2 separate regions of the Homo sapiens genome follow, and region 1 is linked to region 2. The links are contacts of gene promoters, found by promoter capture Hi-C in human tissues and cell types (Jung and others, 2019). All regions are on one chromosome and are shown on one strand. Each heading gives the region's core, a stretch centred on a gene start or on the middle of the fragment in contact. The rest is flanking DNA. Distances are from core to core; before and after follow the strand shown. Region 1 has its middle 56 kb from the start of ACADM. Region 2 holds the start of SLC44A5 (solute carrier family 44 member 5).

What was found. Contacts are between HindIII fragments. The study calls those that stand out against the background at their distance.
Region 1: a fragment that was not itself captured here is called in contact with the fragment with the promoter of SLC44A5 in region 2 in 1 of the 25 tissues and cell types used here (spleen).

The regions. Positions count from the first base shown.
Region 1 is chr1:75,666,965-75,670,561 of GRCh38, forward strand. It overlaps a transcript of SLC44A5 not described here. Among named protein-coding and RNA genes, the nearest start is that of ACADM, 56 kb to the right of the region's middle. The HindIII fragment of the contact is 6,184 bases long and covers 1-3,597 here.
Region 2 is chr1:75,609,618-75,613,154 of GRCh38, forward strand. It overlaps SLC44A5 (solute carrier family 44 member 5), which reads right to left and starts at 1,497. Exons shown (of 24, transcript NM_001130058.2): 1 at 1,423-1,497. The HindIII fragment of the contact is 17,791 bases long and covers 1-3,537 here.

The sequences.
Region 1 (3,597 bases), core at 1,048-3,547, 58 kb after region 2:
CCCACAGCCAGTATCATACTGAATGGACAAAAGCTGGAAGCATTCCCTCTGAAAACCGGCACAAGACAAGGATGCCATCTCTCACCACTGCTATTCAAGATAGTATTGGAAGTTCTGGCCAGGGCAATCTGGCAAGAGAAAGAAAGTATTCAAATAGGAAGAGAGGAAGTCAAATTGTCTCTGTTTGCAGATGACATGATTGTATATTTAGAAAACCCCATCATCTCAGCCCAAAATCTCCTTAAACTGATAAGCAACTTCAGCAAAGTCTCAAGATACAAAATCAATGCGTGAAAATCACACGCATTCCTATACACCAAGAACAAACAGAGAGCCAAATCATGAGTGAACTCCCATTCACAATTGCTACTAAGAGAATAAAATACCTAGGAATCCAACATACAAGAGATGTGAAGGACTTCTTCAAGGAGAACTACAAACCACTGCTCAACGAAATAAGAGAGGACACAAACAAAATAGAAAAATATTGCATTCTCATGGATAGGAAGAATCAATATCATGAAAATGGCCATACTGCCCAAAGTAATTTATAGATTCAATGCTATCCCCATCAAGCTACCATTAACTTTCTTCACAGAATTGGAAAAAAATACTTTAAACTTCATATGGAACCAGAAAACAAAAACAAAAACAAAAACAACACAATCTAGTACTAACCCTATTTTACAGGATACTGAGACACAGATATGTATAGAATATCTGAAAGAATACACAAGAAACTGGTGATGGTAGCTGCTTTGGGGAAATGGAATGAAGTGCCGAACTAAGAGGAGGACTTATTTTCTCTGCTGTATTGTTCAAATTTTTTTGCCATGTGAACATACTATTGAATGGCTGTCACAAAGAAAAACTGATTAAACAGATGGAAAAACCCAGCAGTCACTGTCAAAAGACATAACATTTCTTTTTATTCGAAGAATATGGAAACACATGAAGATGTTTTCACAAAGCAGAAGATAGCAAGCATGCTCCCAGACTGGGGTCTCTTAGAAAGCCTGAATTTTCACCTGGAAGCATTCTGGTTGTCTCTTATTTTATATAACTAATTTATTCACTTCCAAATAATTTGCCATTTGTGAAACTTTAAATCCTCTAAGAGTGTCTATTGCCATGTTTCTGCTAAACACATTGCTATCTCATTAAGACAACAACGGAATTACCTATTAAAAATTATAAATTTTTAAACAAGTTATATCACTCCAGGTATAAGATAATAGGTTTTACTGTGGAAGTGGCACTGGGCTAATAAAAAATAGGTAACTATCAACTTGTTATAATTATATTCCTTGGGGAGGATTACTTAAAAAGAATGTCCTGGATCCTAGGAGCCTTTTTTTTTTTTTTTTTTTTTTTTTTGGTAAATAAGATCTCACTGTCACCCAGGCTGAAGTGCAGTGGCATAATCACGGCTCACATGCAACCTCGACCTCCTGGGCTCAAGCAATCCTCCAGCCTTAGCCTCCCGAGTAGCTAGGATTACAGGTATATGACACCATGCCCGGTTAATTTTTTGAGAAGGAGTTTCACCATGTTCCCCAGGCTGGTCAGCTGGTCTCCAGCTCCTGGGTTCAAGTGATCTGCCTGCCTTGGCCTCCCAAAGTGCTGTGATTACAAGCCTGAGCCACCACACCCGGCCCTGGGAGCTTTTCAATAGTATTTTCTGAAACGCTTGTTTATCTTTCTGTGGTTAAAGGAACATTTGACTGTGTGAAGAAAACAGACCAATTGGCTGGGCACAGTGGCTCACGCCTGCAATCCCAGCACTTTGGGAGGCTGAGGCAGGCAGATCACCTGAGGTCAGGAGTTCAAGACCAGCCTGGCCAACATGGCAAAACCCCATCTCTATTAAAAATACAAAAACTAGCTGGGTGTGGTACAACGCACCTGTAATCCCAGCTACTCGGGAGGCTGGGGCAGGAGAATCACTAGAATCCAGGAGGTGGAGGTTGCAGTGAGCCAAGAGTAAGCCAAGATCACGCCACCGAACTACAGTCTAGGTGACAGAGTAAGACTCCAACAAAAGAAGAAGTGAGAAGAAGAAGAAGAGGAAGAGGAAGCAGACCAATAGAAAGGTATCTGGTCTTGAGACACAATCTTTTCAATTAAACTTCCTATTCATTTGTCCATCTGTCTATTTTTCTTGAGTTCTTTTTTCTTTTCTTTGTACCCAGATGAGCTCATTTTCTTGAGTTGTTACATAGCTGGAAGATAAAAAAAATTCTGCCAATCAAATGATGCTTCCTTAAATCTCATCTCTGCTGATGTTCTAGTCTTTAAGCTTGACCCAGTCCCATTCCTGAATTCCAAGCCTGACATGTGGATTCCCTATACCCAAGGTCACTGTACTGATTCCCTGCTTATGGTCTACTCCCTCTACATCTAGTCTCCATTCTGGCTTGACACTCCCAAACAAACTTTAGTCAAAGGCCTGCTCTTCCTGGGACAGCCCCTAGAGTGTATTACCTTTAGCCAGTGTATAGTCTCACCCAGTGGAGGACACAAATAAGATCTCATGTCAAACCATCACTACTGTCCCAACTTAGGAGGTGGGTAGCCGAGATTGATAAGGAGTTCTTTAATCTCTGGGAATGAAACACTTTAAAAATCTTATTACTTTTAATAACGAACATTCCCCTAACTCTTGTTGTCAGAATTCTGACGCCACTATAAGTTCTCCCTTACGTTCTTCCCATCCCCACCACACATACACACACAAACACACATGCACGCACAAAAAAAAACACCAGACACATACAAACCCATGTATTTAAATAAATAAAATACTTGAGCAATTTCTTCACAGTCTTGAGGACAGAAATTGAGTCTCAAACATACCAGGAGCTTTACTAAATTCTCTATATACATCTTTCACCTTCATAGATGAATGAAAGGGTTTCTGCCAACACTTCAGTAAATTATAAAAGCCAAATATCTCTGTTTTGAGGGTTGAATTATTAGGGGAAAAACAAATATGGAACCTATTTAAAAATGTATAACATGAGAGAAGGATAGCACTTACTATACAAATTAGAATTAGACATAATCCCCAGCCTGAAGGAGCTCAAGAGTTGAGCAAATAGAATTAATGATACAAATTACAAGACTTCTAAAATACAAAAAGAGAAGATAAAGAGATCAAAAAGATAGAAGATATGATAATGAATACAGAAAATAGTCATATTTCTAACCTTTTGAACCTGTAAATAACAGAAAACTCTAAAGGACAAAGGAAAATAAAGTAAGCAAAGGTAATAATCAATGATACCTAAAAGAAAACCTTCCCAATTTAAGAAGTTATTTGATCCCAGAGTTGAGATATTCCTACATGTAAGGAAAAATTAATAAATATATTATGATGACTTTTAAAGCTCAAAAGTAAAGAAAGACTCTAAAAAATTCTAGACAACACAAAATGAAATTACATACAACAGAATGAAAGGGAATTTGCCTTCTTTTTTGCAATTCTAAATGCTAGAAACAATAGAATTAAAACTAGGTCTAAATCTCCCATGAAAAACTAAAGTTATTTTGTTTTTATATTTGACAATTATATAAATATGCTTAATAATGTTTTGA
Region 2 (3,537 bases), core at 247-2,746:
GAGCCAGGAATCAGTACTCAAAAAAGCAGAGGAGAAAGCAAGCTGCTACAAGAAACTCAAGGGAAACAAGAAAAGAGAACTTCAGGGTTTCAGCCCAATTCACTAAATAGGAAAGAGGGCTAAGATTCAAGATCAGTGTTGGAACTAGTAACAAATATTACATTTCATGATAGAGGTGCAAAAATAATGAACCACAGGTATATTCATGATCTAATGTTATGTAACCTATTACCCCCAAATTTTAGTGGTTTAAGACAAGAGTAAGCATTTATTATATCTTATGGTTTCTGTGATTCAGGAATCCAGAAGCAGCTTGATTGGATAGCTCTGGGTCGGGGCTATCATGAAATTCAGTCAGATGTTGGCTGAAGCTACAGTCATCTGAAGGCTTGACTTGGTTGCAGGGTCTGTTCCCAAGATAGATCACTCACATAACTAGCAAGTTGTTGCTATTAGCAGGAGGCCTCAGTTCTTCCCACACAGAGCTAAGATTCAAGACTTCTATGCAAGTCAAGAAATACACACACACACACACACACACACACACACACACACACATAGTGAAGTCTGAATATAAATTAGGAACTGAGCTCTTCTTCTCTCTCCATAGGTATATACATATACATACATATACCTATATACACATAGATATCCTGGAGAATTATTTAGAGAGAGCAATATTTCTACATCAGCTCCCTAGGCCAAGTAAGGTGACCCAATGGACTTCACTTTTCTAAAAAGTGCAGTTATACTTATGTATCTTCTCTTACTATTCATCAAAATACCGACAATATTTTGGGCTGAAATGTTAATAATATCTGTATGAACCTCTGCTTCAAAAAATAATCCAAGGGATCCTTGAGTATTTTTAAAACATGGCATCTGGTTTCCCCAAAATGAGCAACATAAGAAAGCAAAGAATACAAAAGAACAAGGCAGAAGCCATAGTGTATGTCTTTATGATGTAGTTTTCTGCTGTACAGTACTGATCACATGGTCAGCTGTGATTCATTTTGGAAGGGGAGTATGAACAGGTGTGAATACCAGTAGGTAAGGATTCCTAGAGATGTTATCAACATCTCAGCCCGAAATATTGTCGATATTTTGGTGAATATTAAGAGAAGATACATAAGTGTAACTGGACTTTTTAGAAAAGTGAAGTCCATTGGGTCACCTTACTTGGCCTAGGGAGCTGATGTAAAAATACTACTCTCTTTAAATAATCCCCCAGGATATCTATATATATACACACACACACACGGAGAGGAAGTGCTCAGTTCCTAATTTATATTCAGACTTCACTATATATATGTGTGTGTGTGTGTGTATTTCTTGAGTTGTATAGAATACGTACTTATGAATAACAAACTTGACCAATTTTCCTACAGACATAGACTTCTTGCATTTAGCAGTATCACTCACCTCTTACTCCATCATTTCTTCAATAACTCCATCAACACTGAACCTTCTAACTCTAACATGCTACGATTCACTACTGTGAAAAAAAAGCTGATGTCATAAACACATTGTGTTCCAGTATCACTAAGGGCCATACCCCATTCTTAGGTAATCCCTGAGGTCCTACTAGCCTTGCTAGCCTCAAAGGAGTCACTTGGAGTATAAAGAGGGGGAGGAGACTGAACAAAGTCCTGGAGCTATAGTATATTTTTTCATTGTTAATCCTTGGCAAAGAAGTAGGTAGTTTGGAGGTGGAAGTAGGCCATGATTACCTTTAAAATAATCTACTATTATTTGTGTCTTTCCTGAATATCATAGCACCTTCTTGTCACAAATGCTTAGGGGAAAGAAAATCATCCAATATACCCCATATCCCACTTACCAACATCTCTACAGTAAAATGAGACCCAAGAGCATGATTTCCTTAACTAGCTATCAAGCAACTACCTCCAACAAACAGCAGTTATCATTAATATGTTCATGCTATTTTCATTTGTGAGGTCTGTAATCCATCAGAACAACCTGACAGTGATTAAGTAAAATCAAAGAGACTTTGTAAACATCTGTGTGCTTTTATTGTTACAAATGCTTCATTATAAAAAGATCAGTCAAAAGCATAAAAGTACCCTGGTTTAAACTTTTTCTGTGTTTGAATGAGAATGTTTCTCTTGGAACATGCTCATATCAGGCTTCCACTTGGCAAAATCACGAATTGGCTGATGTTGTTTTAGAGGCTTTCTCATGTCCCCTTCCAAACATCACTCTTCTCCTTCTGTGGACCCCTTTCTGTTATCTAGGAGCCCCTCATGCTGCCTTCCACATTCTGCCTACTGCACAGTCATGTTCTGGACCCCTCAGAATCCCCCTCTACCATTACAATATGTTTTTCCTAAGACTTACTTGCATTGAAAGGCTTGCCAGGGAAGTGACTAATCTTATCATCTTGTACTAAATGTTAAATTAATCCTCATTCTCTCTAGAATTGTTTTCTAAGCAGGGATTCCTAGAGATGCTATCAATATCTCAGCCTGAAATTGCATAGGTATTCTGGTGAATAGCAAGAGAAAATAACGTGAGTATAACTGGACCTTTTAGAAAAGTGAAGTCTATTAGGTCACCTTAGTTGGCCTAGGGAGTTGATGTAGGAATGCTCCTCTCCCTGAAATAATCTTCCAGGAGAGGAATGTATCCCCAAATAGCAAGTGAATATCCAATGGCTTCTCATTGCACTTAAACTCTATATTCCTTTTTATGACCAAAAAGGCCTGGCTTCTCCCTAACTGTCTCTTCCTTACACATTACACCTCTTCCTTTTGTATGTGAATGTGCCAAGCTACCACCTCATTTCTACCTTAAGGCCTGAAGTGTTATGTTCCAGTTCTTGGCATGCAAATTACTCTTCATCACTTGTTTCCCGACACAAATGCCACCTTTCCAGACAATCTAAAGTAACCTCAAAATCATTTGCTCGCACATCACTTTGTTTTATTTCTCCTGGTATTAATCACTATGTGAAATTTTCTGGTTCATATTATTTGTCACCTGCTTCTTCCAGGCCTCCTCTTACTTCATTGTCTATCATGTTCATTACCGTATCCCTAGTGTTTTGCACAGAATCTGGTACATATTCAGTGCTCAATAAATATGTGCTAAATGAATAAATGAATAAATTAACCTAAACATAAGTTTTACACTTAAGTAATTGAGCAAGAAGTCTTTGTTGTACTAATATTGGAAAAGGCAGGGGTGGGGGTGGTGACGTGATTATAACCAATGTAACCAGCTTGCATTTATAAGACTTGTATTGATTATGAACTATAGCATTTTTTCGTTAAAAACATTATCAATATTGGATTGTAAAAGATTCCATTGGCCTTTCTGAAAGACTGTCCTTTTGATGAGATGTCACAAATGAATGCTAATGTCCCTTGAGAAATCCTGCCAACAGATCTTATTCTTCTATCAATGTTAAGAAACTGCATTTCTCTTTGGCCAATTTCTAGGCTTATGGATAGTCTCTCTTGCTAGGACTTCAGAAGCCAATGAGCAACTTGCCTGTCACAAGATCCGACGAATGAT